Regions from separate parts of the Homo sapiens genome. Here regions 1 and 2 are each linked to region 3. The links are contacts of gene promoters, found by promoter capture Hi-C in human tissues and cell types (Jung and others, 2019). All regions are on one chromosome and are shown on one strand. Each heading gives the region's core, a stretch centred on a gene start or on the middle of the fragment in contact. The rest is flanking DNA. Distances are from core to core; before and after follow the strand shown.

Region 1 (4,188 bases), core at 1,000-3,499, 310 kb after region 3:
TCCGTGCTGGTGGCCACACATATCTGTCAGTTAGATAACTAGCATGTCCAGTCTTGTTTAATAATCAAAACCCCAAACTCTGTTCAGAGGTAAAGCTTTGCCCCTGGCCTAGCTGGAGCCTGGTGTGAGGGGAACCTGTGGTGGGAAAGGGGGACGTGTCACCACCTTGAGCTTCCAGTGGCAGCCAAAATCCTAGCTGAGTGCAGTCATATGAGTGACCCCAGATGGCACCAGCAGCAGCAAAGCGACTATCCGGCTACCAACCTGAAGAGTCCTTACAGATAATCTACCATTGAAGATTGATGTTTAGGGTGGGTTTTCCATGGTAATAGACCATTGAACTACACCTAACAGTTTCTCTTTAGGGTTGGGGATCATAGTACCCCAAGAGCTCTCTCTAAAGAACAACCTGCATACTTCGACTTCTCTACCTCTGCAATTTTAACCCTTTTATACCTTCCAATGCATGAAAAGCCAAGAGCCATGAAACTGGTTTTTTACCTTCTCCTTTGCAAGTCCAGCATGAGGGGTCTAGAACAGGGCTTAGCAAACTATAGTCTGTGGCCAAATGAGCCATGGCCCACAAAACCTGTTTGCTATCTGGCCCTTTAAGAAAAAAATGTCCCGTTTGAAATATGCAGGCAACAGTGTCTGATGGGCAAGGCTCGTGTCTGGTGCTCATCTGTATCAGTCCGCATGGACTCAGTTGTGCTGCAGTAACAAACAATCACGCAAGTTTCAGGGACTGGAATCTCACTTTGGAATGTGAGAACAGGTGGCAGCTCTTATCATAGACCCTCAGCTAAAACTGAGATGGAAATAATTGCATTATAACAGACCGTTACAGATGTTTGATGAATAGAGCATTCCATGGCCAAATACATTCAAGAAATGCACTGTGGATCACCCCTGTAATCCCAGCCCTTTGGGACGCTGAAGTGGGCAGATTATCTGAGGTCAGGAGTTCAAGACCAGCCTGGTCAACATGGTGAAACCCCATCTGTACTAAAAATACAAAAATTAGCTGGGCATGGTGGCATGAGCCTGTAATCCCAGCTACTCGGGAGGCTGAGGCAGGAGAATCGCTTGTACCCAGGAGGTGGAGGTTGCAGTGAGCCGAGATTGTGCCACTGCACTCTAGCCTGGGTGACCGGGCGAGACTCTGTCTCAAAAAAAAAAAAAAAAAAAAAGAAATACACAATGGAAAAATAAAAGGCAAACAAGATTCTTTCATTGAGCCTTCTCTCCAAGGTGGGAAGAAGAGGCCTGTAACGTCCTATTGTCCTATAGCTCCTGGACCCTTTCAGCTGGAGCATCCCCCGTGACAACTGGGGAACTCCTGTTGCCAGATGCAGGATGGTGGACGTGAGAGAGGCAGCTGGAGCCAGGCAGAGTTTCTCCACCCTGTGTCTTCATCTTAGCCTTTCTGCCCTCTTTCTTCCTTAGAGTTATCTGGCTGTCTGCTCATCTGGTCATAAACCGTTTTGTTCATATTAGGCCATGAGAAATGTGCAGTTCTTGGGTGGGGGGAGATGAGGAGGGAGGCTGGGGATTTTGCTTTTGAAGAATGCAAGGAAAGGACAAAGTTGAATCTAGTGATCTCACTTTCTTTCTCTTTTGTCACCATCAAAGCTGTGATTTGCCACTTAGCCCCCTCGAAACAGTTTCGTGGTTTGCTGGAGTTACTTCTGAGCAGATTTATTTATGATCAGAAGGAATATTTTATACCAGGAGGAAATTAATTCTGCTCAGCCTTCCTGCACATTCCTTTGACATGACAGGCTCCTCTTTTGAGGGCTGTTTTAACCTCTAGCTTCTCCCTTTGATATATTCAGGAGGCCCCAAAAATGCTGAGCCATCATCCTCACTCCTGATGGCCTTGCCATCATTCTGAGAACTAAAAAAGAATTAAATTGCAGTGGAAATGGTCACAGAATGCTCTTTTCTCTTTGGAAAGCTAATGTTAATTTGGAGTGAGATTTATGTAGGAAGCTTAAGGAATCTGTTAAAAGAAACATTGAGTTGATTTTCTAATTGACCACCATGTTGCATTTACATGTGTGACATCTGCAGATGCTCCAATAGTACGACTACACACATAAAGCTTTAGTGATTTGGTGATTGCCAAAAAGGCAGTATTTTTTCTGATTGGCATAATTTCTACCTCCAATTTACTGGAACACTGGGCATGACTGAGACGCCTTTTTAGTGATGTCTGCTGTTCTGCATGTTCAATAAACATAAAATTGAGAGGCTTGGCCATGGTTGTGTATGTGCAGCATCTGTGATCCAAGTGGAATTTAATGGTGGAATTGGGGCTTAACAATGGAATCCTGGGAGTGATATTTGGGCCTCAGGGCCCTTACTCTGCAGAAATGAGTGATGGGGCCTGTATTAGTCCATTTTCACACTGCTGATAAAGACATACCTGAGACTGGACAATTTACAAAAGAAAGAGGTTTATTGGACTCACAGTTCCACATGGCTGGGAGCCCTCAGAATCATGTCAGAAGGTGAAAGGCACATCTCATATGGAGGCAGACAAGAGAAGAGGACTTGTGCAGGGAAACTCCCCTTTACAAAACCATCAGATCTCGTGAGACTTATTCACTATCATGAGAATAGCAGGGGAAAGATGCGACCCCATGATTCAATTATCTCTCACTGGTCTCTCACACAACACATGGGAATGATGGGAGCTGCAATTCAAGATGAGATTTGGATGGGGACACAGCCAAACCATATCAGAGCCTATTCATATGGAGCCGACTCTGTGTGTGTGTGGTGTGTGTGTGTGGGGGGGGGGGGTGGTGTGTGTGTGTGTGTGTGTGGGTGGTGTATGTCTGTGTGTTTGTATGTGCGTGTGGGCAGTGTGTGGGGGCAGTGTGTGTGTGTGTGTCTGTGTATGTGTGTGTGTGTGGTGTATGTATGTGTATGTGTGTGTGTGATGTGTGTGTGGGGGGGTGGTGTGTGTGTATGTGTGTGTCTGTGTGTGTGTGGTGTGTGTGTGTCTGTGTGTGTGTGTGTGAGTAAGGTTGTCAAGTTAGCAACTGGTCAGGCTCCTCCTGGGCTGGTCCCTGCCTGTCTTCAACACCACCTGGGTGGTCCCTGCCTGTCTTCAACACCACCTAGGTGGTCCCTGCCTGTCTTCAACACCACCTGGGTGGCGTGTGTGTCTCACGGCTGTTATGCTGCCTGAGCCTGTGTGTGACTGGAGCAGGAGCTGGCATTTCTCCAGCCCCTGTTGTCCGCCAGGTGTTTTGTGATGCTTTCTAATTGTTTCTCCTGGGAGCCTCCTCGCAAGCTGGTGCTGGGCTGCACTTTTGGCCAGCCTCGGTGTGCTGGCCAGTTCAACTCAGGAGCCTTCAGCACTGAGGGCCAGCCCCAGTCTGCGGTGTCTGCCCAGGACGGCCAGTCCCTGCCAATCCGGCAGGTCCTCAGAGGCCAGGCTGAGCAGCTGGGGCCTTGCAGCAGGACACAGGGTCACAGCTGGACCCAAGCAGAGAGCCTGCTGGGCCTGAGTGTCCAGGTGTGAGGGAAGGGCTTCCTCCCTCCAGAGAACAGGGATGCAGGTTCCAGCCAGGTAGACCTTCCTGCTTTGTGAGTGTGTCCAGAGCAGGGAGAGTTTCACCCACAAACCCAATATGTGACAGGAGCAGCATAGGGCATACCCACTCTGCTCACTCAAAGGATCCCCAGGAGCTGCTCTGGGGTGCCTGAATTCTCACCATCACAGGCTGGAGTGCAGTGGTGCTATCTCGGCTCATTGCAACCTCCGCCTCCCAGGTTCAAGCTATTCTCCTGCCTCAGCCTCCTGAGTAGCTGGGACTACAGGCATGCACCACCATGCCCTGCTATTTTTTTTCTTTCTTTTTTTTTTTTTTTTTGGTAGAGACGGGGTTTCATCACGTTGGCCAGGCTGGTCTCAAACTCCTGACCTCAGGGGATCCGCCTGCCTCGGCCTCTCAAAGTGCTAGGATTACAGGCATGAGCCACTGCGCCCGGCCCATCAGTTCTTTTTCACCATCAATCCACGTCTGACCTTTCCTGTGCCTAAGCTGTCATAGAGGGTAAATGCAAACCAAACACACTTCAGATGGAAAACACCTCACCCTTCTCCCAATTCTCAAACCTTGACTCACTTCCCATAGCACATGGAGGAGAATGCTAGCATCTTCCCACAACTCG
Region 2 (4,178 bases), core at 308-2,807, 260 kb before region 3:
GGGAGAGGGATATTTCTTCCCTGTCTGGATGATCCCAACACTCATGGGCATATAGGGTCATGGTTGCCTGTGTCTCTCACACCACGCCTTGGAACTGGCAAGTTCTGGGCTACCCTTTGAGACCTTCTTCTCTTCTACACAGAGAAACCCCTGACATTGACAAGCAGTATGTCTTAGTGACCATTTTCATAGTAGAATTAGTTGCTGCCAATTTGTGTAATTTCAGGGATACTGAGCAGACTCACAACTTCCCAACCAAGGAGGAAAACACTTCCTCTACCATCTTGTCCAAATTCAGGTCTTTTCAGCATTAGCAATTTATATAGGTGGTTCTGAAAGTGTTTTGAATCTTCTAGAGGTTCCATAAAATTGCAAATGGCCTTGGTGTGCACACAGGTGAAGCTGTCACTACTAAGGCATCAGTTAGGCTGGTGACACCTGCGAGTGAGACCTGGAAGGTTGGGGGTGCAGGTGGTAGGTCAGGAGGCAGTAAGGTGGCTGGAGCGTCCATGTGGAGCCAGAATGAATAGCCAGATCTCCCACTCCAGTCAGCTGGGGCAGTGGCCAGAACCAGTAGCCTTCAGCCAGGTGAAAGGGCATGAGGCATTGGAAGGGAGCAGATGCCAGGCAAAGTGAACTCCTGTCTCTCCGGGGTTTTGTTTTTGTTTGAATTCAAAGTACTCAGAGATAGCCAGACTGCAATGTCTGAGGGCACCCTTACCTTTGACACCACCTGCAAATTTAAGGGGATTTCTAAATCCATCCTTTGATTTTGTAATTCACTGGAAGGACTCACATAACTCACTGAAAACTGCTATTTCACAATTGTGGTTGATCACACGGAAAGAACACAGATTAAAATCAGCCTAAGAAAGAGACACACGGGGCAGAGTTTGGGAGGGTTTTAAGTGTGAAGCTTCATTGTCCTCAGGACGCTGTGTTCTCCTGTGTGAATGTGGGACAAAACACATGCGGTGTTGCCAACCAGGGAAGCTCACCCAGTTAAGGAAAAATTCCTGTGAATCACATTAAACCAGAAATGAAGCCTTTTTTCAGGATTGTTGTTACAGGGGAGGGAGACTGAGCCCAGCTCCAAATATAGTAAAGACAGAGGGGGAGTCACAGCCAACACCAGGGTGGGGGCGGGAGATGGAACAGGACTGATAGGAGACACCAGAGTGGGGGGTTCCTGCTAAATTGGCCTAACAGGATTCTCACTAAAGGCAGGTCAGACACTCACCCATCAATGGTGGGGGTGAAGAGCATAATCAGATAGCAAAGCGTAATCAGACAGCAAGGGGGGAAGACCCTCCCTAAACTGACTTGGGGAGATTCTTGCTGAGCTGGGTGGTGCAGGTCCAGCAAGCAGTGGGTGGCTGTGGAAGGCCAAGGTCGGCGCCTAGTGGAGAAGAGGCTCAGAAGAGCCCAGCTGGAGTTGGTCAAGGAGAAAGTCCTTCTTTCTCAACCCATGCCTTAGTGTCCAGAGTATCTGCTGGGGCTGGATCACAAGCTGCCCTCATGGCTGACCTGGAGTCTCCAGCCCCTCCCTGAGGTCTAACCCCTTTAGTCCCCGGGTCCTCTGGGATCAGGAAAGACACCAAATAGCCCCAAACCCCATCATCCATCAGATTCCTATACGGTCCCGTGGCCAAATCACCAGGCAAAGACAGATGTTCCTACCAGGCAGGACATTCCAGGGGCCTGGAGATCACTTCCCAGGAGCTGAGGACAAAGGGAAGGCCTCTCTTTGGGTAAAGTTCATGCTTCACTTTCCTGCCATCCTGGGAATAAGGTCTCTTTGTCTCACTCTCACTGCTCTTTGTTCATCTGCAGAGTTTTCCCTCTCCAAACACTTTGGCAGTCACGGTGTTGACCTGCCCTTGAATGAGGAGGCATCTTTATCAAACACCTACCATGAAAGAGCATCTGAGATGCCTTTAAGATATTTATTTCCATATGGAATAAATATTGAGGAGTATCTATGATGAACAAAATGTGTTTGAGTTTGAAAGATAATTAATTCCATTTGTAAAATTTGTTTCTATTTGATCGATAGTGAAAGCTCTGCAATTTACACAGGATAGAGATCACATGGAGCTCATTTCACAGACAGGGAAACTGCATTTCTTTTTTTTTTTTTTTTTTTTGAGTTGGAGTCTTGCTCTGTCGCCCAAGCTGGAGTGCAGTGGCGCGATCTCGGCTCACTGCAAGCTCTGCCTCCCGGTTCAAGCAATTCTCCTGCCTCAGCCTCCTGAGTAGCTGGGACTACAGGCGCCCACCACCACGCCCGGCTAATTTTTTGAATTTTTGGTAGAGACAGGGTTTCACCGTATTAGTCAGGATGGTCTCAATCTCCTGACCTTGTGATCCACCCGCCTTGGCCTCCCAAAGTGCTGGGATTACAGGTGTGAGCCACCACACCGAGCCAAAACTGCATTTCTTAATCCTTTAACCTTTCCTTGTGCAGGAATGAGGCAGATGAGCTCCGTAAAGCTCTGGACAACCTTGCAAGACAAATGATCATGAAAGACAAAAACTGGCACGATAAAGGCCAGCAGTACAGAAACTGGTTTCTGAAAGAGTTTCCTCGGTTGAAAAGTGAGCTTGAGGATAACATAAGAAGGCTCCGTGCCCTTGCAGATGGGGTTCAGAAGGTCCACAAAGGCACCACCATCGCCAATGTGGTGTCTGGCTCTCTCAGCATTTCCTCTGGCATCCTGACCCTCGTCGGCATGGGTCTGGCACCCTTCACAGAGGGAGGCAGCCTTGTACTCTTGGAACCTGGGATGGAGTTGGGAATCACAGCCGCTTTGACCGGGATTACCAGCAGTACCATGGACTACGGAAAGAAGTGGTGGACACAAGCCCAAGCCCACGACCTGGTCATCAAAAGCCTTGACAAATTGAAGGAGGTGAGGGAGTTTTTGGGTGAGAACATATCCAACTTTCTTTCCTTAGCTGGCAATACTTACCAACTCACACGAGGCATTGGGAAGGACATCCGTGCCCTCAGACGAGCCAGAGCCAATCTTCAGTCAGTACCGCATGCCTCAGCCTCACGCCCCCGGGTCACTGAGCCAATCTCAGCTGAAAGCGGTGAACAGGTGGAGAGGGTTAATGAACCCAGCATCCTGGAAATGAGCAGAGGAGTCAAGCTCACGGATGTGGCCCCTGTAAGCTTCTTTCTTGTGCTGGATGTAGTCTACCTCGTGTACGAATCAAAGCACTTACATGAGGGGGCAAAGTCAGAGACAGCTGAGGAGCTGAAGAAGGTGGCTCAGGAGCTGGAGGAGAAGCTAAACATTCTCAACAATAATTATAAGATTCTGCAGGCGGACCAAGAACTGTGACCACAGGGCAGGGCAGCCACCAGGAGAGATATGCCTGGCAGGGGCCAGGACAAAATGCAAACTTTTTTTTTTTTCTGAGACAGAGTCTTGCTCTGTCGCCAAGTTGGAGTGCAATGGTGCGATCTCAGCTCACTGCAAGCTCTGCCTCCCGTGTTCAAGCGATTCTCCTGCCTTGGCCTCCCAAGTAGCTGGGACTACAGGCGCCTACCACCATGCCCAGCTAATTTTTGTATTTTTAATAGAGATGGGGTTTCACCATGTTGGCCAGGATGGTCTCGATCTCCTGACCTCTTGATCTGCCCACCTTGGCCTCCCAAAGTGCTGGGATTACAGGCGTGAGCCATCGCTTTTGACCCAAATGCAAACATTTTATTAGGGGGATAAAGAGGGTGAGGTAAAGTTTATGGAACTGAGTGTTAGGGACTTTGGCATTTCCATAGCTGAGCACAGCAGGGGAGGGGTTAATGCAGATGGCAGTGCAGCAAGGAGAAGGCAGGAACATTGGAGCCTGCAATAAGGGAAAAATGGGAACTGGAGAGTGTGGGGAATGGGAAGAAGCAGTTTACTTTAGACTAAAGAATATATTGGGGGGCCGGGTGTAGTGGCTCATGCCTGTAATCCGAGCACTTTGGGAGGCCAAGGCGGGCGGATCACGAGGTCAGGAGATCGAGACCATCCTGGCTAACACAGTGAAACCCCGTCTCTACTAAAAATACAAAAAATTAGCCGGGCATGGTGGCGGGCGCCTGTAGTTCCAGCTAACTGGGCGGCTGAGGCAGGAGAATGGCGTGAACCTGGGAGGTGGAGCTTGCAGTGAGCCGAGATATC
Region 3 (4,213 bases), core at 1,128-3,627:
ATGTTGTCCAGGCTAGTCTTGAACTCCTGACCTCAAATGATCCTCCCGCCTCGACCTCCCAAAGTGCTGGGATTACAGGCGTGAGCCACCACGTCCAGCCACCTTAGTCTTTTCCATCTGCAAAATAAACAAGATCCTTGTTCTAAGCACTTTGTATAATGCCACACAAGTATTCAGACTTGCAAAAGTGCATTTATGTATATAGAGTGCTGAGAAAAAAAGATCTTTAAGTATATCCTGAAATTCAATTTTCCTTTCTCATTGTTTCAATTTTCTGCCATCAACGCAAATCCTGTGTGCAGTGCAAGCGGACATAAAGCCAGGCAGAAGAACTGCCAGAGGGCCAAGGAGGTCCCCACAGACCTCAGGCCCAAAGTTGCCATGTTAAATGTTCATGAATACTGCCAGGCACTGTTCTTACTGTTTACCACTCATTCATTCATACAGTCCTGCCAACAATCCTGTGAGGTAGGAGCCAATGTTATCCGCACTCTCCAGATAAGAAAACCAAAGCACAGAGAAATGAAGAAATTGCCCAAAGTTGAAATGCTAGTGGATGAAAAACGTGAACCAAAGCAGTCTGACCCCAGAGTCTGCACTCTGCATAATGCTATAGCCCTCTTGGGAATTAAAAAACCGGCGCTGTATAGCAGATGGCTGCCCGACACTTCTATAAAAAAACCTATGCATTTATCTTCCGTTGTAACCTTCTGAAAATGCTTAGAAGGCGAGTTCCTAGAGGAAAATTCACTACACAAGTATTTCTTGGAGGCCGGGCGCGGTGGCTCACGCCTGTAATCCCAGCACTTTGAGAGGCCGAGGTGGGCGGATCACGAGGTCAGCAGTTCGAGACCAGCCTGGTCAACATGGTGAAACCCAGTCTCTACTAAAAATACAAAAATTAGCTGGGCGTGGTGGCGGGCACCTGTAATACCAGCTACTCAGGAGGCGGAGGTTGCAGTGAGCCAAGATCCTGCCATTACACTCCAGCCTGGGCAACAGAGCAAGACTCCGTCTCAAAAAAACAAAAATCAAATGTTTCTTGGAGGCTGGAGAGCAATCAAAAGAACAGGTATGCTGAACTTAGTAAACTCTCCTCAAAGCCCCATGCTGGGGAGATTGAGGCTTCCTTCAGAGATGACATTTGGGTGACAGCAACACAGGATGAACCTAGAAGTTTCATCTTTCTAATAGAAACTATAGGAAGAGGACAGAAGAAAAAGGGTGGTGGTCTCAGAACAATTTGTATTAAATAAATATTGCTGAGCTCCTACGTGTTAGGCCCTATACCAGATAATTTAACACCATTGACCACCCCCCCACCCCTACTTTAGAGGCAAAAATTTGAAGCTCAGCCTACTCAAGCAGCTGACCTCATCATTTCAAAACAGATTTGATTTCCAGGGTTGCCTGCTGTCAGTCCAGCCTTCTTTCCATTATATTACAGCTGGGCAGCAGCCCGCAAAGATCAGGGGTTTGAGACCGTACATCATAATACCAAGACAACGAGTCTCAAAACACACTTTAAAAAATCGGGTTCTGTCAGAAGCTCAAGAAGGGAAGAGGCCCGAGGCTCGACCTGCATCACCTCCCTGGAAAGCCAGGGATGAGATACCCTGGCTTTAATAAATGTTTTTTTTTTTAAGAGCAGAGCGGAACCAGGAGGAGAAACTGAGCCGCTCAGCAAAAACGAAGTAACAGCTGTACTAGTCACAGGGGCAGGATAGGGAGGTTCCAAGAGGGCACTCAGAAGGGGCTCTGTGGTTGGCAGGCCACTACAGATCATAAGCCGTCCATCGCTGAACAGGGGGTGGGGTAGATTTAAGATCAGAGATCAAATCTACTTCTCTATCCTAGCCTCCAGTTTCACAAAAAAGGAAAGATAACCTATGCACTGTGAATTCCTAAGAACAGGGGCCAAACACCGCTCAGCCTGGTACCCCTAAGACCTCACTCAAAAAGTCAGGGAGTTTTCGGCCACTTCAGAAAGACTTTGTTGTTACCCCTCCGTCTTAACCCAGGTGAGTTAAGTGACAATCAAATTCACCCAGCTCATGGGCACTGAGCAGGGCCGAGGGCCAAGGACCTCACCCACAAGGTCGTGTCCCGCGTTCAGTAGCGTGCGGGACGCGGGGCCCCCGAAAGTGGATTCCTGCCCCGCCCAGCGGAGGGACGGCAACAGCAGGAAGGGACTAAGAGAGGTCTCTTCCGGGAGGCCCCCCGAAGGCTGGACCTAGTCCGAACCGGCTCCGGAGGGCCGCAGGAACCTATGAAACACGCCGCTCACCTGCAATGGCCTCGGCCGGCCGGGATGGCAACAGATGGTGCGTGCCGGGGACCGCGTTAGCAGCAGCACTCTTGAGAAACCAGGAAAAGAGGAAACATGCGCGCGCAGCGGGCGCCGCCGTAAACACGACCGGCGCTGTCGTAAACTGCTCTCCCGCTTCCTCTGGGTTGGGCGGAAGAACTCACGAGCCGTAAAGCGAAGGTCCACCCGGAAATCCGTTACTGCGTTTCGCCAGGCGTCCTCATTAGCCTCCGAGGCGCCGAGACGCGAGAGGTGTGATTGGCACTACGTCAGGCGGTATCCGGGGACGCCCAAAGAGGGCGTTCATCACTGAAACTTGGCGGCCGCGCAATCGAAGCTCGAGGCGGGGAGCGACTGGCGCCCTTCTGTGTCCCACAATGCTTCGCGGCGCGCCTCAGCCCCCATGTATCCCACCGTCACCCGCGACTCCCCGCCTGTTCTACCTGCCTGCTTAATGTGAAACTCAGCGCAGGGGAGGTCCGTCGGTGTCTTAGGCGGTCCTTATTGTTACTCCTCCGCCTTTATAGTTGTGGAAACTGAGGCTCAGAAGTGCCAAGTGACCTGCCTAGATCAGACTGTTAGTTTAGGGTTCTAACCGCCAGAGTTCAAACCATACTTCCGCAGTTCTCAAACTTAATTGTAGGACAGGGATTTCTGGAACAGTGTTTTTATTTATTTTTATTTATTTTTTGAGACAGGGTTTCGCTCTGTCGCCCAGGCTGAAATGTAGTGGCAGGATCACGGCTTATTGCACCCTCGACTTCTCAGGTACAAGCGATCCTCCCAGTTCAGCCTCCCGAGTCGTTGGTGTACACAGGCACGCACAACCACGCCTGCCTAATTTTTGTATTTTTGGTAGAGATGGGGTTTTGCTATGTTGCTCAGGCTGGTCTCAAACTCCTGAGCTCAACAGTCCACCCACTGGGGCTAGGGTTACAGGCATGAGTCACCGTACCCGGCCAGCTAATGATTTTTAAAAATTTTGTAGAGACAGCGTCTCACTATGTTGCCCGGGCTGGTCTTTAACTCCTGGTCTAAAGTGGTCCTCTCGCCTCAGCGTGCGGAGCAGCTGAGGCTACAGGTGCATGCCACCATGCCTGGCTAATTTTTTTTTTTAGACGGAGTCTTGCTCTGTCTTCCAGGCTGGAGTGGAGTGCAGTGGCGCTATCTCAGTTCACTGCAACCTCCGCATCCCAGGTTCAGGTGATTCTCCTGCTTCAGTCTCCCGAGTAGCTGGGATTGCAGGCGTGTACCAACATGCCCGGCTAATTTTCCTTTTAGTAGAGACGGGGTTTCACCTTGCTGACCAGGCTGGTCTCGAACTCCTGACCTCAGGTGATCTACCCACCTCGGCCTCCCAAAGTGCTAGGATTACAGGCGTGAGCCACTGCGTCCGGCTGCCTGGCTAATTAAAAAAAAAAAAAAAAACTTCTGTGGAGACGAAGTCTCATCATGTTGCCAAGGCTAGTCTCAAACTCCTGGGCTCAAGCAGTCCTCCTGTCTCGGTCTCCCAAAGTGCTGGGATTACGGGCGTGAGCCACCACACCTGACCAGGATAGTATTTTTAAAAATTCAGATTCTGGGTCTCATTTTGATAGATTATACGGATATGTTTATGCTGGAGCCCAAGAGCTCCGCATTAGCTGTGATTCTGAAGTGACGACTCAGGAACTGCTTTACTACAGTAGATAACAGTGCTGTCCTCTCAGCAACTCCCAGGCTATGGAGTTCCTCCTGGTGTCTTTCTTTCGGAATTTTAAAACAATGAAAGATAATCTGAGGGCATGACTTTATTCAAACCTCAGATCCTTTCTACCTGACATAGGTTTCCTTAGCCGCCTAGTATGTCTCCTTTATTAGAAAATATACCTGAAGTCTAGGCTCTGCCACATTCTTTTTTTTTTC

The links. Contacts are between HindIII fragments. The study calls those that stand out against the background at their distance.
Region 1: a fragment that was not itself captured here is called in contact with the fragment with the promoter of EIF3D in region 3 in 2 of the 25 tissues and cell types used here (IMR-90 fibroblasts and lymphoblastoid cells).
Region 2: a contact is called between a fragment that was not itself captured here and the fragment with the promoter of EIF3D in region 3, in 4 of the 25 tissues and cell types used here (dorsolateral prefrontal cortex, lymphoblastoid cells, mesendoderm cells and 1 more).

The regions. Positions count from the first base shown.
Region 1 is chr22:36,835,402-36,839,589 of GRCh38, forward strand. No RefSeq gene overlaps it. Among named protein-coding and RNA genes, the nearest start is that of PVALB, 20 kb to the left of the region's middle. The HindIII fragment of the contact is 4,407 bases long and covers 47-4,188 here.
Region 2 is chr22:36,262,684-36,266,861 of GRCh38, forward strand. It overlaps APOL1 (apolipoprotein L1), which reads left to right. Exons shown (of 6, transcript NM_003661.4): 6 at 2,468-4,178. The coding sequence ends at 3,350. Among named protein-coding and RNA genes, the nearest start is that of APOL1, 12 kb to the left of the region's middle. The HindIII fragment of the contact is 4,952 bases long and covers 1-4,033 here.
Region 3 is chr22:36,526,789-36,531,001 of GRCh38, forward strand. EIF3D (eukaryotic translation initiation factor 3 subunit D) reads right to left here and starts at 2,378. Exons shown (of 15, transcript NM_003753.4): 1 at 2,288-2,378. RefSeq lists enhancers at 1,889-1,938, 2,249-2,648. The HindIII fragment of the contact is 12,569 bases long and covers 1-4,213 here.